Regions from separate parts of the Homo sapiens genome. Here all the other regions are linked to region 2. The links are contacts of gene promoters, found by promoter capture Hi-C in blood cells and fetal thymus (Javierre and others, 2016). All regions are on one chromosome and are shown on one strand. The core of a region is centred on a gene start or on the middle of the fragment in contact, and the rest is flanking DNA. Distances in the headings are between cores, read along the strand shown. Region 1 has its middle 14 kb from the start of NEURL3. Region 2 holds the start of CNNM3 (cyclin and CBS domain divalent metal cation transport mediator 3). Region 3 overlaps ARID5A (AT-rich interaction domain 5A). Region 4 has its middle 5.2 kb from the start of ANKRD36. Region 5 has its middle 76 kb from the start of NCAPH. Region 6 overlaps NCAPH (non-SMC condensin I complex subunit H). Region 7 has its middle 55 kb from the start of NCAPH.

Region 1 (3,567 bases), core at 843-3,342, 320 kb before region 2:
CCCATTTTCCCCACCACCATCTCCTAGTAACCACCCTTCTACTCTGTTTCTATGAGTTCAGCTTTTTCGTGTCTGGCTTATTTCATTTGGCATAATGTCCTCCGGGTTCAACCATGTTGTTGTAAATGACGGGATTTCCTTTTTTTAAGGCTGAAAAATAAATACATAGATATAACATTTTCTTTATCCATTCACCTATCAATGGACACTTAGGTTGTTTCCATATCTTGACTATTGTGAATAATGCTGGAGTGAACATAGCAGGGCAGCCATCTCTTCAAGATCCTGCTTCTATTTCCTTCAGATACATACTCAGAAGTGAGACTGTTAGATCATATGATAGTTCTATTCTTAATTTTTTGAGGAACCTGCATACTGTGTTCCTATTTTTTAAGCCATGCAATTGGAAACGCACTGTTTTTCATAATGACTGTAGCAGTCTGTATCCCCACCAGCAGTATATAAGGGTTCCTGTTTCTTCATATCCTCACAACCACTTGTTATCTTTTGACTTTCTGACATTAGACATTCTAACAGGTGTGAGGTGATATCTCATTGTGGATTTTATTTGCAGTTTTCTTGATGATTAGTGATATTGAACACCTTTTAATATACGTATTGGCCATTGTTATGTCTTCTTTGGAGAAATGTCTATTCAGGTCTTTTGCCCAGTTTTAAATCAGGTTATTTGTTTTTCTAATATTGAGTCATATGAGTCCCTTATATATTTTGGATATTAACCCCTTATTGTATACAAAATATTGCAAATATTTTCTACTGTGGCCTTTTCAGTTTGTTGATTGTTTCCTTTGCTATGCAGAAGCTTTTTAGTTTGATGCAGTCCCACTTGTTTTTGCTTTTGTTACTCATGCTTTAGATGTCATATCCAAAAAATCATTCTTCTAGGAGTTTTACGGTTTCAGGTCTTACATTTAAGTCTAATCCATTTTCAGTAGACTTTTGTGCATAGTGTAAGATAGGGTCCAATTTTATCCTTTTTCATGTGGCTATCCAGTTTTCTCCATACCATTGATTGAAGAGACTGTCGCTTCCCTATTCTGTATTCTTGGTGCTTTGTTGAAGATAAGTTGATCATATATGCATGGGTTTATTTCTAGGATCCTTATTCTGTTTTATGGATCTATTTTTCTGTTTTTATGCCAGTACCATACTGTATTGATTACTATAGCTTTGTAGTATAATTCAAAATCAGAAAGTGTGTTGTCTCAGCAGGTGCAGTGGCTTGCACCTGCAATCCCAGCTATTCAGAAGGCTGAAGTCAGAGGATCACTTGAGGTTAAGAGTTTGAGACCAGCCTAGGCAACATATTGAGACTCAGTCTCTACAAATAAAAATAAAAAATAAAACAAAATAAGAAGCCAGGCATGGTAGCACATGCCTGGAGTACCAGCTGCTTGGGAGGCTGAGGCAAGAGGATAGCTGGAGCCCAGGAATTTGAGGCTGCAGTGAGCTACGATTGTGCCAGCCTGGATGACAGGGCTAGACTATATACATTTTTAAAAATCCTTTTATCCAATTTCCTGACTTTTGTTGGGATGCAGGAATTGAAGTTCTATTATTTTCACATGATTTGGAATTTATATATTTTATTTGTAGTTCTACATTTTGTTTGTATGTTCTTTACCATACAAATTAAACTTATTTTTTTCTCATTTATATTGTTAAAAATAACTTCTTCCTAGCCAGGTGTGGTAGCTCACACCTGTAATCCCAGCACTTTGGGAGGCCAAGGCGGGCAAATCACCTGAGGTCAAGAGTTCAAGACCAGCCTGGCCAACATGGTGAAACCTTGTCTACTAAAGATACAAAAATTAGCCAGGCATGGTGGCAGGCACCTATAATCCTAGCTACTCGGGAGGCTGAGGCAGGAGAATTGCTTGAACCCAGGAGGCAGAGGTTGCAGTGAGCCAAGATCATAATGTTACACTCCAGCCTGGGCAACAAGAGCAAGACTCTGTCTCAAAAAAACTAAAAAAATTTTAAAAACCCTCTTCTTGATAAGAAAAGAACCTTAGCATGCTTTTTATTTTTGCCATTCCACCCATGTTGATATCATCTGTGGTTTTCATTTCAAATTATTATTAATTTTTTACAATTAACATTTACTTAGATTCAACTTTTTTTGCTTTTAATGGTTACAATCATACTAATTTTTCTTGTTTTTTCTTTTTTCTGAAGTGATTCTTCTAATAATTTGCCTATAAAGTATCTGTTAAATGATAAACTTTGAGTCTTTTTATATCTGAATATTTCTTCATTTTACGCTCACCTTTGAATGAGAGAGTCGCTGTCTGCAGAATTTTAGATTTCAAAATTATTTCCTCATCAAAATGGGGACTTAAGATCTGTGCATAGGCCAGGCACAGTGGCTCATGCCTATAATCTCAGTACTTTGGGAAACCAACACAAGTGGATCACTTGGGCCCAGGAGTTCAAGACCAGCCTGGGCAATATTGCAAGATCTCATCTGTACTAAATATTAAAAAATTAGTCAGGTGTGGCAGCATGTGCCTGTAGTCCCAGCTTACTCTGAAGGCTGAGGTGGGAGGATCACCTGAGGCCAGGGAGGCGGAGGCTGCAGTGAGCCATGATTGTGCCACTGCACTCCAGCCTGGATGACAGAGTGAGACCTTGTCTCAAAAAGAAAAAAAAAAGATATGTGCATATTATTATAGTAAATATGCTTCAATTAAAGAAAATCCCCCTGAACTTTGAAGATATTGTTCTATTGTCATTCTGTACCAAGTATTGCTGAGAAAAAGCCTACTGATAATGTGATTCTAATACTTTTGTGTGTGATCTGTTTTGGGGTGTTTTTTTTTTCTTCTTGGGTTTTCTGTTTATCCCTGGTACTCTGAAATGTCACCAGTATGTGTCAAAATGAAAGTCTTTTCTTCACTTATTCTGTTTGGCAACTGGGGGGCTTTTTCAATCTGAAAAGCTATGTCTTTCTTCAATTCTGAGAAATTGTTCTTTTATTTTTATTTCTGGTAGAGATGGGAGTCTTATATGTTGGCCAGGCTGGTCTTGAACTCCTGGCCACAAGCGATCCTCCCACCTTGGCCTCCCAAAGTGCTGGGATTATAGGCATGAGCCACCATGCCCAGCTCTAATCTTTCTTTGAGTTTCTCTTTTGTCCATTTTCTCTATTTTTTTCTTCTGGAATTCACATTGGATGGTTATTTGAACTTCATCTATTCTGTTTATTCTCTTTTTATATATTTCATCTCTTGTTAATTTTGGAATGCATTCTGGTTGATTCCAGATCATTAATACATTTTTCAGCTACATACTTTCTGCTACTCACTCTATCAAATAAGTTATTTTAAATTTTAATAGTCAAGCTTCTAATTCCAAAGGTATCTAGATTTTTCAATGCAATATCCTTTCATATGTGATTATAGTTATCCTAAAGCCCAGGTTTGTATGCTTTATTAACCCTATTTTTTCAGGTATGAACTCCTTTTGCTGTCAGTCCTTTCCATCATGATATTCACTTTTTTCAAATATTTGGCTTTTCTTGGCTGTGAGTTCACCTTTGGATCT
Region 2 (3,322 bases), core at 224-2,723:
GCGGGCGCCTGTAGTCCCAGCTACTCGGAGAGGCTGAGGCAGGAGAATGGCGTGAACCCGGGAGGCGGAGCTTGCAGTGAGCCGAGACTGCGTCACTGCACTCCAGCCTGGGTGACAGAGCGAGACTCCGTCTCAAAAAAAAAAAAAAAAGTTTTTTACAAAGCCTTTTCCTTTGGTCACTCACCACCAGCTTACTCATTTTTTTTTTTTTTTGCACATTACCTTCCACACAAGTTTTACTTTGTGGCCACAATGTGCATACTTTTTTTGATTGTTACTTTCATGACATAGCAAATTGTTTCTATAGAGTCTTTATAAAGGTCATTTAAAATGACATGTGCAGTAAGTCAAAGTCTTCTTGTGCTAGGAAATTTGAAAAAACAAAAGTGTAGAGAAAAATACAAAAATTACTGAATCTGAACATCTATAGAGAAGTGTTGTTAGCAGTTGGTTTATTTCCTTCCAATCACATACAGATCATATCTGATGGGTAAAGAATATTCCATACTGTCAACAGACCACACTGTCTTCTAAAATCGCTTCAGCAGTGAGGATCCTCTGGAATAGATCTTGTTAATCCTGAGGAATTATTCTCCCAGCGGTGAGCTATGAGAAGTGGAATCACCAGATGTAGTAATTCCTGACAGAACTGCCGCCTGCTTGTGTGGCTGAGATGCTGACCTAGGTATCAGGCTGGTCGCGCCGGAACCCAGCACCCACGCTGAGTCTTTCTGAGCTCCACTCTGCTCCTGTTAGATATTAACCACCTGAGGTAGCTGTCCAGATTCAAGGCGGTAGTGATTTTGTGTGTCTGTGTATTTATCACGGGGTCCGCGGCGGGAACGCAGGGGCTGTGTCCCACGTCCCCAAACCTCTAGTAGGGTACGGCGCGATGAACATCTTCCATAAACCTTAAACCTCCCGGCGCTCAGTCACTGGTTCTTATTTCAGCCCTCTTAGCCCCGTAGGTCGGCGCGCTGAAAACCTTTCTGGTACCTGGGGCCTTTCCTAAGAAAAAGGCACATGTCTCGCACATTTCAGTCTGGTCTGCAACTTCAGGCGCGCCAGCACCCGAGGTTCTTCCGACCGGCCGCTCCGCTCCCAAGCCGGGAACTTCCCAGAGAATTGGCTCGGCCTCCGGGCGCGGGGGACAGCATCGGGAGGAGTGGGACTCCGGGCGCCGCGCACGGGCCGAGGACAGCCGGGCTTGGGAGGCCCTGCCCGCCGCCCCGCGTCCTCCCGGCCACTGCCACCCCGCGCATCCGGAGCCGCAGCAGACTCGGCGGGGCCCGGAGCCCCACGCCCCCGGCCCGCCCCTGGCCGCCACTTGTTTACTCCCCGGCGCAGCCTAGTCCGACCCTGGGGCCCGCCCCCGCCCACCGCCTATTGGCCGAGGAGGCGCGAAGAGCCGTAACGATTGGCCCGGGGAGGCGCGGGGCGAGCGGGGTAGGCTGCGCGAGAGGCCGAGAGGGGGCAGCAGGCGATGGCGGCGGCGGTAGCTGCGGCGGGTCGGTTAGGCTGGTTGTTCGCCGCGCTCTGCCTGGGCAACGCCGCGGGGGAGGCCGCGCCGGGCCCGCGAGTGCTGGGCTTCTGCCTGGAGGAGGATGGAGCGGCGGGCGCGGGTTGGGTACGCGGAGGGGCGGCGCGGGACACGCCGGACGCCACCTTCCTCCTGCGCCTCTTCGGCCCGGGCTTCGCCAACAGCTCTTGGTCCTGGGTGGCCCCGGAGGGGGCGGGCTGCCGGGAGGAGGCGGCCTCCCCCGCGGGCGAGTGGCGCGCGCTGCTGCGCTTGCGCCTGCGGGCCGAGGCCGTGCGCCCGCACTCGGCGCTGCTGGCGGTGCGCGTGGAGCCGGGTGGCGGGGCGGCTGAGGAGGCGGCGCCGCCCTGGGCTCTGGGCCTGGGGGCGGCCGGGCTGCTGGCGCTGGCAGCGCTGGCGCGAGGCCTGCAGCTGAGCGCGCTGGCGCTGGCGCCTGCCGAGGTGCAGGTGCTGCGCGAGAGCGGCTCGGAGGCGGAGCGTGCGGCGGCGCGGCGTTTGGAGCCCGCGCGGCGCTGGGCCGGCTGCGCCTTGGGCGCGCTGCTGCTGCTGGCCAGCCTGGCGCAGGCGGCGCTGGCGGTGCTGCTGTACCGCGCGGCCGGCCAGCGTGCGGTGCCCGCCGTGTTGGGCAGCGCGGGGCTCGTGTTCCTGGTGGGAGAGGTGGTGCCGGCCGCCGTGAGCGGGCGCTGGACGCTGGCGCTGGCGCCGCGAGCGCTCGGCCTCAGCCGCCTGGCCGTCCTGCTCACTCTGCCCGTCGCGCTGCCCGTGGGGCAGCTGCTGGAGCTGGCGGCGCGGCCCGGGCGGCTGCGGGAGCGGGTGCTGGAGCTGGCGCGCGGCGGCGGCGACCCCTACAGCGATCTCAGCAAGGGCGTGCTGCGCTGCCGGACCGTGGAGGACGTGCTCACGCCCCTCGAAGACTGCTTCATGCTGGACGCCAGCACCGTGCTGGACTTCGGCGTCCTGGCCAGCATCATGCAGAGCGGCCACACGCGCATCCCGGTGTACGAGGAGGAGCGCTCCAACATCGTGGACATGCTCTACCTCAAGGACTTGGCCTTCGTGGATCCCGAAGACTGCACGCCGCTCAGCACCATCACTCGTTTCTACAACCATCCGCTCCACTTCGTCTTCAACGACACCAAGCTGGACGCTGTCCTGGAGGAATTCAAGCGAGGTAACGGCCCGGGCATGGTGCAGGGGACGCCCGTGCGAGTGCCCTCTCCCTGAAAAGGGGTGGAGAGTTATGGAAGCCTTCTGGAAAGGGTCCCACCCCTGTGGAGAGCAGTGAGACCTCTAAGGTCCCTTTTCAAGACGGTATTGGCCTTGCAGCTTGGAATGACCTTTTGAAATACTTAAAGGCCATCGATCAGAGTGGGAGGAATCCTTTAGACAGCGAACACTTTAACCCCCGCGTCAGGATAGCCCCCCCCCCCCATTTGCAGGGAGGGGTATGTCCGCTTGTCCTCTAATCCCCCAGCTCTTTCCCTCTCCCAGAGTGTTTCTGTGTGCTTGACTTTGTAGCAGGTCCAAATTTTTGGATAGAAACTAGAAGAACATAGAAAAGATGGTAGTCTCCAGGTATCTGGGATATTGTTGTGTGCACACATGTAATATCAAATTGACTGGACCTGTAATGTTTCCTTCAGAGCATTCTTAAGGTCCCTGGCGTTACTGCAGATAAGGGTATTTAGGTGTCAATCCCTTATCTGCGGTAAAGTCAGGGAAACTTAACACTTTGCTTTCACCAAAAGTAACTCCATTTATGCTGACTTAGTCTCCCTTTCTCCC
Region 3 (3,690 bases), core at 324-2,823, 280 kb before region 2:
TTTCATGAAAGGAAGTGTCACTTCCTTCCCATCACACCCAGGGTGAGTGGGGCGGGCAGCAGAAAGATGGGGAGGGAGAGAAGGAAAGGGGTGTGTGCCTCCAGCAGACCCTTAAACTTGAGAGCTGTGTGGCCTTGTACTAGTCACTGCCCCTCTCTGGGCAACAGGGGTCTGTAAGTCCATTGCGCTCATCCTGCACCCAGGAGGCTGATGTTTCCGGAGCACCTGCTGGGCAGCGAGGTGCCTTGGGGAGGGAGCAGGACAGGCAGGCCTCTGATCTTCTCACTGAGCCTGGCTGTGGTTTGTGGGGGAAGCCTCCTTTCTCTTCTCACTTTTTTCTGCTGAGAACATTGGGCACATTGAGTCTAGCACGCCCATCTTGTAGATGGGGAAAGGGAGATACAGAACCAGTGACCAACTTGGTAAGAGGTGCAGCCATGCAGTGCTGGAACCCCTTGCCCCATCTGTCCTCTTGGCCCACTTTCATCTGCTTCCAGCTTGATGTCTGGCAGGGCAGGGGCCCACTGACTTCCCCGCATCCACCCACTGCCTGGCCCCATAGCTACCTTCTAGTCCTGGCTAAGCCCCGTGAGACATCTTAAGTTTGTCTTCAGTGACTCTCAACCACCGCCCGACTGCCTTCACCTTCCTGCCTTTGCATACCTGCCTTTGCTTCGCCAGGTTGGTTGGGCCCTGGCCAGAGCTGGCCCCCTACTCTCTCAGGTAACAGGTAGCAGTTTTTTAAATGGAATCTCAGTAGGTATCAACAGGTCTTTCCTCCTTCCTCAAGATTATGGAGATAACACCCCTTATTCAAAGATGGTGGGTCCTCTGGGCCCTCCCCGACCCAGGCCAGGGAAGTTGATTCATAGAGTGTGGGGGCCATGCCCCTTCCCGGCCCTCCCCCTCTCCCCGCTGCTGCCCAGCTCTCTGACCAGCCCCCTCCCATCCCTGAGCCTGGATGCCTTAGCAGTCAACACAGACCTGCTCTTGTTAGCAGAGTGACAGGAGCGATGTGCTGGGAAACTGCACATCTACTTGGGGAAAGGGGACAAGTTTGCATCCTCTGAGCACAGATAAGGAACTTGAGGTCTCCCTGCTCCCATTAGAAAGAAAAAAATCTCTAGCTCTCAGGGATCAGCGTCTCTCAGGAGTCAGACTACCCTGGTTCTGAATCCCAGCTCTGCCATGGATAAGCTCTGTGGCCCCAGGCAAGTTACTGAACCTCTCTGAGCCTCAGACATTATATCTGTTATATCTGGATGGCTGGGAAGATTCAGCAATGCAATGTTGTATGAGATGCCTAGCCCACACCAGCCAGGGCACTGATTTGAGTCGGTGGAGCATGTAACTTGAGAACAAGTAGACCTATGGGAGCATCCTCTACTGGAGGCAGTGACAGACTAACATCTTCAGTGCTGGAGTTTTAGGATCTGGGAGTTGAGCTTGACTCAGACAGGAGCTATGGAGTTGGAAAGAAATCAGACTCATAGCACAGGAAGAGCCTCAGGCAATCCTCCTGCCCAGCACCCTGCCGCACCCCCTCTCTGCTTAGTAAGGGACTGGGTCACTAGGAGCCCAGGCTCATCTTCTGGCGCAGCCACCTAGCCTGCCTCGGCCCTCTTCCCAGCAGTGAAATGAGGAAATCGCAGGGGGGCTTTTGTGGAGTGAACTACTGTTATCAGGGTTTTTCTAACACCATTTTCTAGCTGCACAAAACTCAAGGAACAAACTAGGAATAAACCTCCCCAAGAAAGCACAGGGGCTTTTTAAGAAGGAACTTCTGAGGACTGCAGAGGGAAACCTGAATTATGGAGACACATGGTCCTGAAAAGAAAGATGCAATACTGTAAAGGTATTATTTCTCCTCAAAGTAGTTTCTAAATTTAAATGCAATCAAAGCCCCAGTAGTGGGGGTTTTTTGTTTGTTTGTTTGTTTGTTTTGGAGACGGAGTCTCTGTCACCCAGGCTGGAGTGCAGTGGCCTAATCTCAGCTCACTGCAACCTCCACCTCCTGGGTTCAAGCAATTCTCCTGCCTCAGCCTCCCGAGTAGCTGGGATTATTGGCGTGTGCCACCACGCCCACTAATTTTTGTATTTGTAGTGGAGATGGGGTTTCACCATGTTGGCCAGGCTGGTCTCGAGCTCCTTACCTCAAGTGATCTGCCTGCCTTGGCCTCCCAAAGTGCCAGGATTACAGGCGTGAGCCACCGCACCTGGCCTTTTTTTTTTTTGAGAAGGAATCTCGCTCTGTCGCCAGGCTGGAATGCAGTGGCGCGAGCTCAGCTCACTGCAACCTCCACCTCCTGGGTTCAAGCGATTCTCCTGCCTCAGCCTCCTGAGTAGCTGGGACTACAGGCATGCGCCACCACCCCCAGCTAATTTTTGTATTTTTAGTAGAGACGAGGTTTCACCATGTTGGCCAGGATGGTCTCGATCTCTTGACCTCATGATCTGCCCGCCTCGGCCTCCCAAAGTGTTTTTGTTTTTGTTTTTTTTTAAAGGGAATGTAACAGAATTATCCCAAAGTTCAAATGGAATATTTTTAAAAGATGAGTAATATTGGGCAACTTGCCCTCTGGATAGTAAGTTGTTTTATAAAGCTACAAAAATTAAAACAGTGTGCACAGGTCCTAGCATCCCACTGTGGATGAGACAGAATAGAAAGTCCAGAAATAGTCCCAGATGTGTTCCTTATAAGCACTGACATTATGGGGAAAGTAGCATTTTACACCATTGGAGGAGGAGGCTACTCACTGGGGCCCCCAACCAATGAGGGGAAAGTATGGCTAGGATCCCTATTTCATCCTGTATACTGGAATAGATTCCAGATGTGTTACAAGTGAGTAATGAGACAATAATCACCATCATCATCATTATTGCTTGCTGGATGGAGAAAGGTGAAGTCTGGATGACATTCTTATGGAGAGCAGTTTTCTTTTTTGCATTTGATCCCCCACTTCTGTTACAAATAAAACATGTAAGGCATTGTGCCAGAAAAGAATCTGCACACACAGGCTGGGAACAAGGCAGTAGTGCGGTGGCTCACAGCAGCAGCAGCAGCTATCAGGGGCAAGTGGGTTTCTCCTGCCTCTGTGGGCTGAGTGGGGCTGGGAGACGGGGCCTCCAGCTCCATAAGCCTTTTCCCTCCTCCACAGAGCCAGGAGAGGGCCCACCCCACCATGCAGGTCCTGCCTGCCTGGCTCCCAGCTCTCTACCTCCCAACGCTGGACCTGCATGGCCCAACATCTATGGCAGCGGGTTTCAAGCTTATTTTTTATAGCAGAACCCCTTTTACAAATATAACCCTGATCTGTGAATGATCAGGGAAAGGGAGGGATTAGGGCAGCCAGGGACAAGACAGAGGGCACCCTGGAGACCAAGGGGGAGAGGACTCTCCCTTCTTGCTCATCTAATGCTGCAGAAGAGGGGGCCCAAAGGCCTGCAACCCAGAGGGCCCTGGCAGGACAGAGCACTAACCCTGAGAATGGAGACCGAGTTCATCTGGGGACTCAGCTGGACACAGAGATAGAATGTTTCCCTTTGTGGCTTAAGGCGAACAGCTCTAATCCCTTTCCCATCTGGGGTTAAACAGCTCGGATTGGTGACCTCCTTTCCAGGTAACACGAGCACCCAACTCCAGGAGATTTTCCCCTGGTGTGGTCCAGGCAGAGCTTGCAAACTCTGAAC
Region 4 (3,842 bases), core at 919-3,418, 290 kb after region 2:
CAGAGCCCTCAGAAATAATATCACACATCTAAAACCATCTGATCTTTGACAAACCTGACAAAAACAAGAAATGGGGAAAGGATTCCCTATTTAATAAATGGTGCTGGGAAAACTGGCTAGCCATATGTAGAAAGCTGAAACTGGATCCCTTCCTTATACCTTATACAAAAATTAATTCAAGATGGATTAAAGATTTAAATGTCAGACCTGAAACCATAAAAACCCTAGAAGAAAACCTAGGCAATACCATTCAGGACATAGGCATGGGCAAGGACTTCATGACTAAAACACCAAAAGCAATGGCAACAAAAGCCAAAATTGACAAATGGGATCTAATTAAACTAGAGAGCTTCTGCACAGCAAAAGAAACTACCATCAGAGTCAACAGGCAACCTATAGAATGGGAGAAAATTTTTACAATCTACCCATCTGACAAAGGGCTAATATTCAGAATCTACAAAGAATTTAAACAATTTCACAAGAAAAAAATCAAACAACCCCACCAAAAAGTGGGCGAAGGATATGAACAGACACTTCTCAAAAGAAGACATTTACACAGCCAACAGACACATGAAAAAATGCTCATCATCACTGGCCATCAGAGAAATGCAAATCAAAACCACAATGAGATACCATCTCATGCCAGTTAGAATGGCGATCATTAAAAAAGTCAGGAAACAACAGGTGCTGGAGAGGATATGGAGAAATAGCAACACTTTTACACTGTTGCTGGGACTGTATACTAGTTCACCCATTGTGGAAGACAGTGTGGCAATTCCTCAAGGATCTAGAACTAGAAATACCATTTGACCCAGTGATCCCATTACTGGGTATATACCCAAAGGATTAGAAATCATGCTGCTATAAAGACACATGCTTTATATTTATGTTTATTGTGGCACTATTCACAATAGCAAAGACTTGGAACCAACCCAAATGTCCATTAATGATAGACTGGATTAAAGAAAGTGGCAAATATACACCGTGGAATACTATGCAGCCATAAAAAAGGATGAGTTCATGTCCTTTGTAGGGACATGGATGAAGCTGGAAACCATCATTCTGAGTAAACTATCACAAGGACAGAAAACCAAACACCGCATGTTCTCACTCATAGTTGGGAACTGAACAGTGAGAACACTTGGACACAGGATGGGGAACATCACACACCAGGACCTGTCAATGGGGTGAGGGGAGGGGGGAGGGATAGCATTAGGAGATATACCTAATGTAAATGACAAGTTAATGGGTGCAGCACACCATCATGGCACATGTATACATATGTAACGAACCTGCACGTTGTGCACAGGTACCCTAGAACTTAAAGTATAATAAAAAATCATATGAGAAAAAAAAACCTTCGCACGTACGTACCCTTTGAACCTAAAATAAAAGGTGGGAAGACAGAAATAAAATAAAAGAGATTGTCAGTGTAGATTAAAAAGTCGGACTCAACTATATGTAGTCTACAAGAAACACATTCTAAATATAAAGATGCACCTGCATAAATTAAAGGGATGCAGAAAGATATACCATACTAACACTTATCAAAAACACCCCCAACATATCTCTATTAATTTCAGGCAGAGCAGCCTTAAAGAGCAATAAAAGTTACCATAGATACAGAAGGACATTACCTAAGAAAAAGGAGTCAATTCTCCAAGAAGACATGACAATCCTGCATGTGTGTATGCACCTAACAACAGAGCATAGAAATATGTTTAATTTACACTTATCTTCTTATGAGCCATGTTGCGTAACTTTTCACATGTTTAAGATCAACTTCCAATTATTTTCCTATGAAATCTCTATGCGTATCTTTTTAATTTTTTCAATATATTGTTGGTCTATTTCCCCTAAATTTGTAAGAACTATTTGTATATGAGAGATAGCACCCCTTTGTCTATGATATAAGTTGCAAACCTATTTTCCTACTCTTTCATTTGTTTTCTGACTGTGGTGGTAGTCTTTTCTTGCCATGCAAAAAATTTTGTTTTGTTTGTCTTTGATGTAGTTGAATTGACCAGTCTTTTAAAATTGTGTCATTATTAGATGAGCGACTTTCTTTCCAGCTCACCTGAGAATGTGTTTTCCTGTTGAGCTACAGAATGAGCATTGGGTATTTTGTGTTCCTCTGAGAAAGAGAAGAGGTGTGTCTGGCAGCCAGGAGTTGACCTGGTCCTATCTGCCGGGAGTTGGCGATGCTGTGAGCTGCCTGGCACCCACAGATGGATGTTGATGTTCTCTTGTGAGCATAAACAATTCCATAGAACATCTGCTTCATACCATATCATTTTGTGCCAATACTTAAGACAAAAACAAGACCTCTTCATAATCATGTCTGAGCATGAGCAAAGCATGAGCATTGTTCATATCACACAAATGACCAATGTCTCTATTCTAGCTAAGAAGAGTAACTACTGTTTCTTCACCAACTACAGCTTTAACGTTCTTTACCAATTATAGCCTTAACCCATTAAGGCTTTAATACAGGTTTACATCTTTCTACATAAGATTTATTAAGATACCCTGCTATGCTAGAATTACCCCCACTTCCTGACAACACCCAATTCAGAACAAAGCCCCATTTCCTTAAACCCTTCTCCCAGATTATTGCCTAACACAACCCCAAATCCTCTAAGTCCTTTCTGATGTCCTCTTAGTGAGACACCCCACTGTTCCCTGTAGTTTGTATTCTCCCTCACTTAACCAGTAATAACTCACTTCTTCAACTACAGATGTGTTCATGGTGGCCTTTGATTGGAGCCCATTAACATCTCCACTTTTCCTGGTAGCCCAAGGGAATGAGGAGACAGTAGAGGGAAAGGGCGGCTGAGGGCTCTGAGCATTGGTTAGAATGCTTGGGCAACAGATGGCTCTTCCTGTTTCAGTACCATGAGGACTCCCCTGGGCATTGGTTTGCTTTCCTCATTCCATGTGTAGCCTTGACTTCTCTTAGAGGAAGTGCACCCTGATGTCCCTCCACCTTGTTTCTCCTGTTTCTCCCCAGCATCTGTTTCCACCAGTCACCAGCAAGTGAAGGATCGTATAAGGACACCCTTCAGTGTCAGTGTGCTTCACTATGCTCAAAATCACCGGATTTGGAGGTGGATGTGGAGGGTGGGGCTGGAGGATGGAAGAGGAACTTAGGAGCTAAATGCTGACCCTCTCTATTTTGCTCCAGAATGTTCTTTTCCTTTCTCTCTTTGAGTCACCAGTTTCTTTACTGTATTAGGCTATGCCCCTTTCCTTGTTTTATTGCTATCAGTTATTTCTTATTGGCCTTTATAATTTTGTTAGTACCGGGATGGAAAACTCTACAATATTGTTTTTTTCCAATACCGAAGGCATCTCCTCTCCTCATCCCTGCTCTCTCCCTCCAGTTAAAAAAGATAAACACTCCCTGTTGACAAATGTCTTTTCTCTTTTCTGTAGACTCTGCGAGTTCTCCTTTCAGTTTATGCTTTTGGAAACAAAAGTCCTTGTCTGTCCTTCAGGTGTGAGTCAGAGCCAGATTCCTGACTAAATGGAGGGAAGGTTAAGAAAAAATACAATGAGAAATTCATTATAAGAAATTATTTTGTTGTCATCTAGTCATGTAAGTTTTGTCTTTAGTGGTGGTAACGTGCTCATTCATCGTAGTTCGTTGCTCATGCCACGTGGTCATTGTCTCATGCTTATGGGCACCTCTCTTTAGTGACACCCACCTATTGGGGGGAGTCCCATTTGTAAAGAATTTTGTTGATGTGCTGAATACAAATTGATTTCCTACAGTCTTGTCTGTTTTGGGCTGCTATGAGAGAATACCATAGACTGAGTAATTTATAAACAACAGAAATTTG
Region 5 (3,367 bases), core at 411-2,910, 400 kb before region 2:
CCCGGGGCGGATGCTCTCCTCTTGGCTAGCCCAGACAGGTGCCCTTGGGGCTCCCCGCCAGGCAGGCACTGACCTCCCGCGGTCCAGCCACCTCCTGCTCTCAGGGATGCCCCAGCCGGATCTCAGCCCAGCAATCCCGGGTCTCCAGCCTGCCGCTCCACCCTGGGCTGCCTCCTGACTGTTAACACATGACATTGACAGGGACTGTCTCTGTTATGGGTTGAATGTTTGTGTTCCCCCAAAGGAAACGAGAATATTTCACCCCAAAATATACCTCTTTGGCTTATTTTGAGATGGCTATTCAGAGAGGCTGCAAACAGAAGAAGGACTTTGAAAAGCTGCCTTTCGTGAGGGAGAGTTGCACCTGGAGAGAAAATCTATGTTAGTGAAATCAATGCCCAGGCTTTCCCTGAGGACCCTGTAAGCAAGTGGGGTGCAGGGGTGAGGGGGTTGGGGGATCTCAAAGGATTATAGGAATTTAATCAACTTAAGCAATCAGCCTGTTTTGGGTTTTTTTGTTTTGTTTTGTTTTTTGTTTTTTTTGAGACAGAGTCTCGCTCTTTCACTCAGGCTGGAGTGCCAGGCTGGAGTGTGATCTCGGTTCACTGCGAACTCCACCTCCCTGGTTCAAGGATTTCTCCTGCCTCAGCCTCCCGAGTAGCTGGGACTACAGGCTCGTGCTACCACGCCCAGCTAATTTTTGTATTTTTAGTAGAGACAGGGTTTCACCATGTTGACCAGGCTGGTCTTGAACTCCTGACCTCAGGTGATCCACCCACCTTGGCCTCTCAAAGTGTTAGATTACAGGCTTGAACCCCCACGCCCAGCCTATCAGCCTGTTTTACAGCCTCCTGCCCTGCAGCCTGTTTCTTCCAAGCCCTGTTTAGAATGCAGTCACCCACTTGATTCAAACCAGCTCCCAACAGACCCTAGCAACTTACAGATGAACCCAAGTGACCTTTCTTGTTACCATGCTAAAGTCTCCACCCCAGGAAGGGCTGCAGCTCAGCTCCATCACCATCACATGCGACCTATGTGCTGGCATGAGGATCACTGCGTCTGCACCTCTGGGACCCCTCCTCCACATGCGAAGACACATCCTCTCCCCCTCCATCGCCCCATGAAACCCTCCTGTCACTTTCCCTCAGGGGACACTGCCTTGGAGAATACTCCCAGGGTTCTACCTACTTGGGCCAGGTAATAAAACTTTTATTGATCAAAACCTGCATCCTCATGGAGAGTCATTTGTTACTCACCAGGCAAACAAACCCGGTTTTGGGGGTAATGCCTCCCTTATCTGAATCTAGGAAAGATTAACTCAGGAAAATAAACACTGAAGTCTGACACTTTTAAAGGTCTCAGAGAGAATCTTTTACCAAAGGCCACCATCTATTCTTTCTGAGGGCAGCTCTGAGTTTACCTGGGATTTTTTTTTTTTTTTTTTTTTCTCTTTTTCGGGACAGGGTCTTGCTGTGTTGCTCAGGCTGGAGGGCAGTAGTGCAATGAGAGCTCACTGCAGCCTCAAACTCCCAGGCTCTATAGATCCTCCCACCTTAGCCTCCTGAGTAGCTGGGACTACAGGTGCACACCACCATGCCCAGCTAATTTTTAAAAATTATTTTCAGAGATGGTATCTCGCTATGTTGCTAGGGCTGGTCTCAAACTCCTGGGCTCAAGCGATTCTCCTGCCTCAGTCTCCCAAAGTGCTGGGATTACAGGCATTAGCCACAATGTCCGGCTGAGGGATATTTTCATCTGCACCACAAGACAGCCTTTGTTAGACACACTTTCCCATAACCTGTGTCCCTCTATAACCTCAGGATGATGTAAAAACTTCAGTGGCCTGGCCCCTTCTTTGAGTCTTATATTTTGTATGTGTCTCTTCTGTTCATATGCATGTCAATAAATTTGTACATTCACACCAAAAAAATTATATTCCTTTTTTTCCTGTTTTGTTTTTTTTTTTTTTTTTTTTTTTTTTTTCAGACGGAGTCTTGCTCTGTCACCCAGGCTGGAGTGCAGTGGCGCAATCTCGGCTCGGCTCACTGCAACCTCTGCCTCCCCGGTTCAAGTGATTCTCCTGCCTCAGCCTCCCTAGTAGCTAAGATTACACGCCCAGCTAATTTTTGTATTTATAGTAAAGATGGGGTTTCACCATGTTGGCCAGACTGGTCTTGAACTCCTGACCTCAAGTGATCCTCCCTCCTCGGCCTCCCAAAGTGCTGGGATTACAGGCGTGAGCCACTGAGCCCAACCGTTTTTTCCTATTGATCTGTCTTTTGTTACAGAGGTGTCCCAGCTAGGAACTTATGAGGGTTGAGAAAAGAAATTATACATTTTTTTCTCCCCTTCACCTCCAAATTCCTATGTTGATGCCCTCACCACCAATGTGACTACATTGGGAGATAGGGCCTATAAGGAAGCAATAAGGGTTAAACGAGGTGAGGTCGAGGGTGGGACCCTGTTCTGCAGGATTAGTGACCTTGTAAGAAGAGACACCACGGCTGGGCACGGTGGTTCACGTCTTTATTCCAACACTTTGGGAGGCCAAGGGAGGAGGATCGCTTGAGTTCAGGAGTTTAAGACAAGCCTGGGCACCATGCTGAAACTTCATCTCTACTAAAAAGTACAAAAATTAGCTGGGTGTGGTGGCATGCACCTGTAACCCCAGCTAGTCAAGAGTCTGAGGCACGAATATCGCTTGAACCTGGGAGGCAGAGGCTGCAGTGAGCTGAGATCGCACCACTGTGTCAGAGGCGTGTTAACCAGAGCAACTCCATCTTGACTAAGAGCTGGGTAAAATGAGGCAGAACCCTACTGGGCTGCATTCCCAGGCAGTTAAGGCATTCTAAGTCACAGGATGAGATAGGCGGTCAGCACAAGATACAGGTCATGAAGACCTTGCCGATAAAACAGTTTGCAGAAAAGAAGCTGGCTAAATCCTACCAAAACCAAGATAGCCACAAGAGTGACCTCTGGTCGTCCTCACTGCTACACTCCCGCCAGTGCCATGACAGTTTACAGATGCCATGGCAACATCAGGAAGTTACCCGATATGATCTAAAAAGGAGAGGCATGAATAATCCACCCCTTGTCTAGCATATCATCAAGAAATAACCATAAAAATGGGCAACCAGGAGCCCTTGGGGCTGCCCTGTCTATGGAGTAGCCATTCTTTTATTCCTTTACTTTCGTAGTAAACTTGCTTTCACTTTGCACTGAAGACTCGCCCTGAATTCTTTCTTGCACGAGATCCAAGAACCCTCTCTTGGGGTCTGGATCAGGACCCCTTTCCTGTAACAACTGCACTCAAGCCTGGGTGATGAAGCAAGACCCTGTCTCTAAATAAATAAATAAGAAGGAAAAA
Region 6 (3,803 bases), core at 863-3,362, 460 kb before region 2:
TTGCAATGGTTCAGTCTTGGCTCACTGCAACCTCCACCTCCTGGGTTCAAGCAATTCTCCTGCTTCAGCCACCCAAGTAGCTGGGATTACAGACGTGCACCACCATGCCTGGCTAATTTTTTTATTTTTAGTAGAGATGGGATTTTGCCATGTTGGCCATGCTGGTCTCAAACTCCTGACCTCAAGTGATCTGCCTGCCTCGGCCTCCCAGTACACTTGGGATTACAGGTGTAAACTCTCATTTTCTTGGAGATCAGAAAGCAAATGTGTGGGTGTGTCTAGACCAGTTGAGAGCACTTCTTTATATATGAGCCGATCTCTTTTGGACACAGCTCTTTGGTATTTGCAGAACATTTGCTGTCATAGAGGATTCAAACATGATTATGCTTCAGTTCTTTATACCAGGAGAATACAGGTAGATGAATGCAAGGAAGGTCAAGGCACATGCTATAGGAAACCAGAGTTGGTAGGGCTCAGAGTTTATGGAAGAAGCAAGACTTGAACTGGGCCATGAAGGAAGGCTAGGTGTCTTGTCAGGTAGGCATTGCCAGGGAGGTGATTCTAAGCAGAGGTGTAAAAGCAAAAGCCATAGCACAGGAAGGTTCTGATTAGGAAGCTGGAGAGTATACGAGTTTGGCTAGCGCCAAGGATTTGCTTTTAGAAATCACCTAAAGAGATCTTGAACTTTATCATTCAGTCTATTGTAAGGCCTTTTATTGTGGTCCTTCCTTACTGTGGACCCTTGTTTCAGAAGGTTTCATCTACTCAAACTACACAGTCAGCCATAATTCATTGTCCCATTGAATTGCTTGGGGATATAAATCCCTCTGTTGTCACACATGATATAATTCTAGACACAAGTGAGGAACATTATCATAGTGCTTTCAGCTTTAATGTGGGTCAGTGTACAATTTCCATGTTGGCTCTGAAGTGCTGAGTATAGTTCCGTTAACTACCTACACAAGACTTTTAGGGGTGCAGGGCTCCAGGTGGGAAACCATTACTCTGGATAGCATTTGAGAATGGAATAGGAGTAACCTATTTTTAGGTATTTTTAGGATGGGGAAAAAAAATAGGTATTTTTAGGATGGGAATTGGGAGAGGCCAGAGATAAGGGTCATATTGCTGGCTCTGGGGATGGAAAGATGCACTGGGAGGAAACCGACTTGGACGTGTGGCTGCCTGAGGGCTAAAGGGATGGGAGAATGTGGAGATGACGAATGTGCTGCTCTGGGACAAAGAATGGTGAGATGGGTTTATGGTACGGCAGGAGCTGAACCTCAGTTCTGATGAGCTTGGACTCCGAGCTAAGGGGACCAGGGAAGAGCCAGGGAGGCACATCTGTGTTGTCCTATCCAAGCCCCTCTCTCTCCATAGTAGCCACGTTCTGAGGCATCAGGAAGACCTGTGAACCCCATACCCAACCGTATCTCCTGTCTCAAGGTCACCTGCAGAGTCCCAGGGGGCTTCTAGCCTCTTGCTGCACATGTGTGTGATTCACCCTGTCCCTGTTCTTATGCCCAGTGCCTGTTTTTGCCTTTGGGCTTGGTGTCATATGGCCATGCCATTCCTGCTCCTGACCCAGCCTTAGGGACCTTCTTAAAACCTCTCTCAGGTTTCACCCAGCCAGCTAGCCCTACTGACTCTGTCCTTTGCCTGGATATCTTGGGTATGTTCTTCCAAACTTTAGAAGATATTTCTGTTCAGAGGAACAATAGAGCCCTGTGACTAGCCCTATCATACAGGCTTTTTAAGCCAATGGCATTTGTTAGTGACTTATAGAAGGAGACCAGCAGCAAGGATACACGTCCAGATGTATTATAAAAAAGCCATTTGACACAGTGTACACTTGCCACCACATACTGTCTTCTGGAGCAGTATATGTTTATCTCCTGACTATAACCAGCCTTTCTTTTGAACCGGGATTTTATCTGCTCAATTAGAAAGCCACTTTTGTTGGGTGCGGTGGTTCACAACTGTAGTCCCAGTACTTTGGGAGGCCAAGGTGGGTGGATCACTTAAGGTCAGGAGTTCAAGACCAGCCTGGCTAATATGATGAAACCCCGTCTCTACTAAAAATACAAAAATTAGCCAGATGTAGTGGTGCGTACCTGTAGTCCCACTACTCTGGAGGCTGAGGCCCAAGAATCGCTTGAGCCTGGGAGGCAGAGGTTGCAGTGAGCCAATATCATGCCACTGCACTCCAGCCTGGGCGGCAGAGCAAGACTCCATCTCAAAAAAAAAAAAAAAAAACAAAAACAAACCACTTTTGACCATGAGTGGAGATATTTCAGTCCAGTGTATATACCTGCTAATGAGTGGGGCCAAATGCATGAGAATTTATCTTTCCCTTGGCTACATGCCGTAAATCTTCAGTTTCTTCTCTCTCTGTGTTCAGATTGATCCCATGTTTCAGAAGACAGCAGCCTCATTTGATGAGTGCAGCACAGCAGGGGTGTTTCTGTCCACTCTCCACTGCCAGGACTACAGAAGTGAACTGCTGTTTCCCTCTGATGTCCAGACTCTCTCCACGGGAGAACCTCTCGAGTTGCCAGAGTTAGGTTGTGTAGAAATGACAGATTTAAAAGGTAAGTACAAGTGATGCCTTTCACCAGAGCATTTCAGTCATTGGGGAATTTTTTTACATAACCATGGGGTACAATAAGCCCATCATGCTCTTATGTTGCTTAAATTACCCAGAAGTTTCCTCTGGAATGCCAAATTGTGTATCCTTTTGGGAGTGCCTTGCAACCCACTAACTTTTGTCTTCTCTGCGGCGTGGAGTCTAAAACGGTAAACCATCGCCTCTTGGTCTTGATGTGCCCGGTACCTTAGGTGCCCACTGTTTGCAGTCAGCTCTCCAAGTCACATTTGGGAGACCTGGGTTCCTCCTGGAGTGTCAGTTTGTTCTTGGGAAGGGGACTTAGAGAGACCTTTGCCTAGCCAGAGAGGCTTTGTTTTTATTTGCTCCCCATCCAGGGGGCCCTGAGGAGAAGAGAGCGTTGTGAATTGTTTTGAGACTCCTCTGCAGCAGTCTAAGAACTGATCTCTCCTATTATCAGTCCCCTATACTGGCTTGACAGAGATTTTAGCATCCCTCCCATATACGCCTCCACGCCTGAGTTGGGGGTTCTCCTTGGGATGTTGTAATGAGGTGCCAGCAGGTAGGGAGGCCAGGTGCGTGCAGTGCAGTAGCTACACTTGGGGTCCCAGAAGAGCTGCCCCCTCCTGCACATTTCCAATGCAGTGTTCGTACTCTCGCTGATCTTCATCTCAAGTGCGGTCATTTTTATGTGTTGAATGAAATTAATACTTCCCCTCCAGGCTGGGCAGTTGTTAGCTCCCATTCTTGTCATTTCTATTCTTGCCTCAATTTTGTTTAGTATAGTTTTTGTGCTAACGATCTATTTTCCAAGTTTGTGCTCTCATTTGGGGCTCTAATCCCCTGAAGTAAGTCTTCTCTAGTTTGGGACTAAAAATAAGTTAAAGTACCATTACATGATTGCCTATGTACTTGGTGTATTTTTAAGACGAAGCGTTTGATTTCCCAGCTATAGCATAGGTCACAGAATTCATTTCAGAATCGAATGTCTGTGCTTTAGGTTTCTCCTCTAGTATTTTACTAATTTGTGCGATGACAGTGCATAGCCTCACTCCAGCGTGGGTGTGGCCGACGCATCTGCTCGCTCCCAGAAGAGGCAGGGACACAGACTGGCAGCTAGCCAGCCACTGATGATACTTGAGCCTTTGCTGGAGGACAGTGAGGTAACTGTGCCTCTCATCTCTCGTCCCACTCAGTATCA
Region 7 (3,422 bases), core at 848-3,347, 420 kb before region 2:
CCCGGCTAATTTTTTTTTGTATTTTTAGTAGAGACAGGGTTTCACCGTGGTCTCGATCTCCTGACCTCATCATCCGCCCGCCTCGGCCTCCCAAAGTGCTGGGACTACAAGCATGAGCCACCGCGCCCGGCCTTTTTTTTATTGTTTTTATTTTTAATTTGAGATTCTCCATTTCTTCATTGATTGTATATTTTCCTTCAATTATTTAAACATATTTATAATAGCTACTCGGAAGTCTTTGCTAAATCAAACATCTGGGCCCGCATAGCATCAATTTCTATTTGCCCCTTTTCCTGAATAGAGATCACATATTCCTGTTTCTTTGCATGTTTAGTAACTTTTGGTTGAACATTGGATATTGTAGATACAATGTTATAGTGACTTTGGATTCTGTCATGTTCTTCTAAAGATGCTTGGATTTTTATTCCAGTAAGCAGTTAATTGTCTGGATTCAATCTGCAAACTTCACATCCCTCACAGTGTAGTTATTGATATCTGTTCTTTTTGTGACCCGCTATTGCTTTAAGCCTGATCCCACAGGTCTTTCCTCTGCCTGCCAGATTTGGTGGCTAGCCAAGTATTTGGGCAGACATGGGGTTCATCGTGGCTGTGACTTCCTTGCTTCTAGGGATTCCCCTAATTTCCAGCCGCTCTGCCTGCTGTGTGCTCTGTCCTTAACTTCAGCTTTTTGAAACCCAAGATGCATGTGTTTGAGGCAAGGAGCATCAGACCCACAGCCCTTGTTCTGCATAGCTGTCTTTCAAGAGAAGACTCTTTCACCAGGCCCTGAGGGGTTTGCTTCACGTAGGCACAGCTGAACTGTCAGTGGAGCAAAGCAGCTCATGCCCAGAACTGTCTTGTTGTTTGCTTGTTTTGATTTTAGTTTTAGTTTAAAACTCTTCTGAGGCAGGGTGTGGTGGCTCAGGCCTGTAATCCCAGCACTTTGGGAGGCCGAGGCAGTAGGATCACTTAAGCCCAAGAATTTGAGACCAGCCTAGGCAACAGTGAGACCCTGTCTCTGAAAAAAAATCAATCAATCAATACATAAATTTTCCAGGCGTGGTGTCACACGCCTGTGGTCATAGCTACTTGGGAGGCTGAGGTGGAAGGATGGCTTGAGCCCAGGAGGTCAAGGCTACAGTGAGTTGCAATTGTGCCACTGCACTTCAGCCCGGGCGACAAAGCCAGACCCTGTCTCAAAAAACAAAAAACAACTATGGCTGAGTGCAGTGGCTTATGCCTGTAATCCCAGCACTTTGGGAGCTTGAGGCCAGAGGATCACTTTGAGGCCAGAGGATCACTTGAGCCCAAAAGTTCAAGACCAGCCTGGGCATTGTGGCGAGACCTCATCTCTACAAAAAATACAAAAATTAGCCAGGCATGGTGGCATGGGCCTGTAGTCCCAGCTACTCAGGAGGCTGAGGTGAGAGGATCACCTAAGCCCAGGAGGTCGAAGCTGCAATGAGCCGTGTTTGCACCAATTCATTCCAGCCTGGGGCTACAGAGCAAGATCCTGTCTCGAAAAAAATAAAAAATAAATAAAACTCTTCTGGTTTCTGTCTGATTTCCAGTATCTTTAAGTTTGGGGTTTTTGTTTTGTTTTGTTTTGATTTTTTTTTTTTTTTTAATACACAGAGTCTCACTCTGTTGCCCAGGCTGGAGTGCAGTGGCATGATCATAGCTCATTGTAATCTTGAACCTCTGGGCTCAAGCGATCTTCCTGCCTCAGCTTTTGGAGTAGCTAGGACAACAGGCACATGCCACTATGCCCAACTTATTAAAAAAAAAAAAAAGAAAGTTTTGTAGAGATGGAGTCTCTCTATGTTGCCAAGACTGGTCTTGAACTCCCAGCATCAAGGAATCCTTCTGCCTTGGCCTCCTAAAGTGTTAGGATTACAGGTGTGAGCCACCATACCTGGCCTTTAAGTATTTTTTTTAAATCCAGTATTTTACTGTTTTGAAAGCCCCCAGCTAAATTGGGGGTCCGGTACCACAGTGCCTAGCAACACCGCCCTAACACGAAATAAGCAGGAGCAGGATGTGGGTGTTTACACTGTGCCTTTCGTTACTTCTAACTGTGGACAGCCTGCTGCTTAGTTGTCTGATCCATGACCAGGTGTCCCTCACTGGGAAACTTGTTTATACTGGCAGACACCTGGTGGCCCTTGTCTGACCCATGTCCTGCCTGCCCATTGCTCTGATGCTAGGATCCTGACCTTGTGTTCTCCCTGGCATCCCAGGGAAAACTCCGCCTGGGGTAGCCCCTGGTTCTTCAGATGGAGGGCGCAGTACACCATAATCAGAAACAAGCTGAAAGATTTATTACTTTCAGATCCTGGGCAGGGAAGGCACAGTGAGTCAGGAGGATGTCTCCTGTCCCTGGCTCACACGAAGCAGGAACAAAGGGTCAGGCAGAAAGAGAGAGAGAGAGAGAGAGAAAGAAAGGGAGAGACAGAGAGAGAGGCAGCAACTGACAGTATGTATAAGGAGGCTCATCAGAGCCCAGGAGTATAGATAAGGAAATAGGATGTGGGTCACCTTAAGTTCATGCACAAATGCCTGAATGGTCCATTAAACAGAAGCAGCAGGAAAAGTGGGGAGCTGCTAGGTGAGAGAGCTGCTTCTAAGTTCTTACCTCTGGTCACCTGCTTGAACCATTTGGGTGTGTGGTTCTGCTTCTAATGCCTAGGCAGCAACCTTCGCTGTGTCATTCCCATGACATTTATCACTGTTGGTTTGGGGGTTGGCGTGCTCACTTAACTCCTGCCTCTACCAAATGGTCACTCTCCACCAGTTGCGTGTGTGTGTGTGTGTTTGTGTGTGTGTATTAGCCCTTGCATGTGTGTGTATTATCTTGCATTGCTGAAAAGTAATACCTGAGACTGGGTAATTTATAAAGAGGTTTAATTGGCTCATGGTTCTGCAGCCTATAGGAAGCATGACACAGGCATCAGCTCAGCTTCTGGGGAGACCTCAGGGAGCTTTTACTCACAGTGGAAGATGAAGCAGGAGCAGACATCTCACATAGCAGAGCAGGAGCAAGAGAAAGAGAGTAGGGGGCCAGGTGCAGTGGCTCACACCTGGAATCCCAGCACTTTGGGAGGCCAAGGTGGGCAGATCACTTGAGGTCAGGAGTTTGAGACCAGCCTGGCCAACATGGTTAAACCACGTCACTACAAAAAATACAAAAATTAGCTGGGCGTGGTGGTGCGCACCTGTGATCCCAGCTATTCAGGAGGCTGAGGCACGAGAATCACTTGAACCCGGAAGGTGGGGGTTGCAGTGAGTCAAGGTTGTGCCACTGCACCACAGCCTGGGTGACAGAGCAAGATCCTGTCTTTTAAAAAAAAAAAAAAGAGAAAGAGAGTGCAGTGGGGGAGATGCCACACACTTTTAAATGACCAGATCTCACGTGAACTCAG

What was found. The method cuts DNA at HindIII sites, captures the fragments that hold promoters and counts their contacts. A CHiCAGO score of 5 or more calls a contact.
Region 1: a contact is called between a fragment that was not itself captured here and the fragment with the promoter of CNNM3 in region 2, in 1 of 17 cell types (total CD4 T cells). The highest score is 5.7, in total CD4 T cells.
Region 3: a fragment that was not itself captured here is called in contact with the fragment with the promoter of CNNM3 in region 2 in 14 of 17 cell types (neutrophils, megakaryocytes, monocytes and 11 more); the score reaches 10.5 in neutrophils.
Region 4: a contact is called between a fragment that was not itself captured here and the fragment with the promoter of CNNM3 in region 2, in 3 of 17 cell types (non-activated CD4 T cells, total CD4 T cells and naive CD8 T cells). The highest score is 7.1, in non-activated CD4 T cells.
Region 5: a fragment that was not itself captured here is called in contact with the fragment with the promoter of CNNM3 in region 2 in 4 of 17 cell types (activated CD4 T cells, total CD4 T cells, naive CD8 T cells and 1 more); the score reaches 7.3 in activated CD4 T cells.
Region 6: a contact is called between a fragment that was not itself captured here and the fragment with the promoter of CNNM3 in region 2, in 3 of 17 cell types (activated CD4 T cells, total CD8 T cells and naive CD8 T cells). The highest score is 7.7, in activated CD4 T cells.
Region 7: a contact is called between a fragment that was not itself captured here and the fragment with the promoter of CNNM3 in region 2, in 4 of 17 cell types (activated CD4 T cells, naive CD8 T cells, non-activated CD4 T cells and 1 more). The highest score is 8.5, in activated CD4 T cells.

Annotation. Positions count from the first base shown.
Region 1 is chr2:96,489,457-96,493,023 of GRCh38, forward strand. No RefSeq gene overlaps it. Among named protein-coding and RNA genes, the nearest start is that of NEURL3, 14 kb to the right of the region's middle. RefSeq lists an enhancer at 3,520-3,567. The HindIII fragment of the contact is 2,542 bases long and covers 822-3,363 here.
Region 2 is chr2:96,814,795-96,818,116 of GRCh38, forward strand. It overlaps CNNM3 (cyclin and CBS domain divalent metal cation transport mediator 3), which reads left to right and starts at 1,474. Exons shown (of 8, transcript NM_017623.5): 1 at 1,474-2,708. The coding sequence starts at 1,484. RefSeq lists an enhancer at 621-740 and silencers at 1,081-2,060, 2,071-2,210, 2,221-2,330. The HindIII fragment of the contact is 9,370 bases long and covers 1-3,322 here.
Region 3 is chr2:96,538,823-96,542,512 of GRCh38, forward strand. All of the region lies in intron 1 of ARID5A (AT-rich interaction domain 5A), which reads left to right. Among named protein-coding and RNA genes, the nearest start is that of ARID5A, 3.9 kb to the left of the region's middle. RefSeq lists an enhancer at 1-251. The HindIII fragment of the contact is 3,388 bases long and covers 1-3,267 here.
Region 4 is chr2:97,106,079-97,109,920 of GRCh38, forward strand. No RefSeq gene overlaps it. Among named protein-coding and RNA genes, the nearest start is that of ANKRD36, 5.2 kb to the right of the region's middle. The HindIII fragment of the contact is 7,335 bases long and covers 1-3,842 here.
Region 5 is chr2:96,410,000-96,413,366 of GRCh38, forward strand. No RefSeq gene overlaps it. Among named protein-coding and RNA genes, the nearest start is that of NCAPH, 76 kb to the left of the region's middle. The HindIII fragment of the contact is 4,622 bases long and covers 1-3,367 here.
Region 6 is chr2:96,349,433-96,353,235 of GRCh38, forward strand. It overlaps NCAPH (non-SMC condensin I complex subunit H), which reads left to right. Exons shown (of 18, transcript NM_015341.5): 7 at 2,399-2,588. Among named protein-coding and RNA genes, the nearest start is that of NCAPH, 16 kb to the left of the region's middle. The HindIII fragment of the contact is 4,387 bases long and covers 1-3,803 here.
Region 7 is chr2:96,389,293-96,392,714 of GRCh38, forward strand. No RefSeq gene overlaps it. Among named protein-coding and RNA genes, the nearest start is that of NCAPH, 55 kb to the left of the region's middle. The HindIII fragment of the contact is 6,592 bases long and covers 1-3,422 here.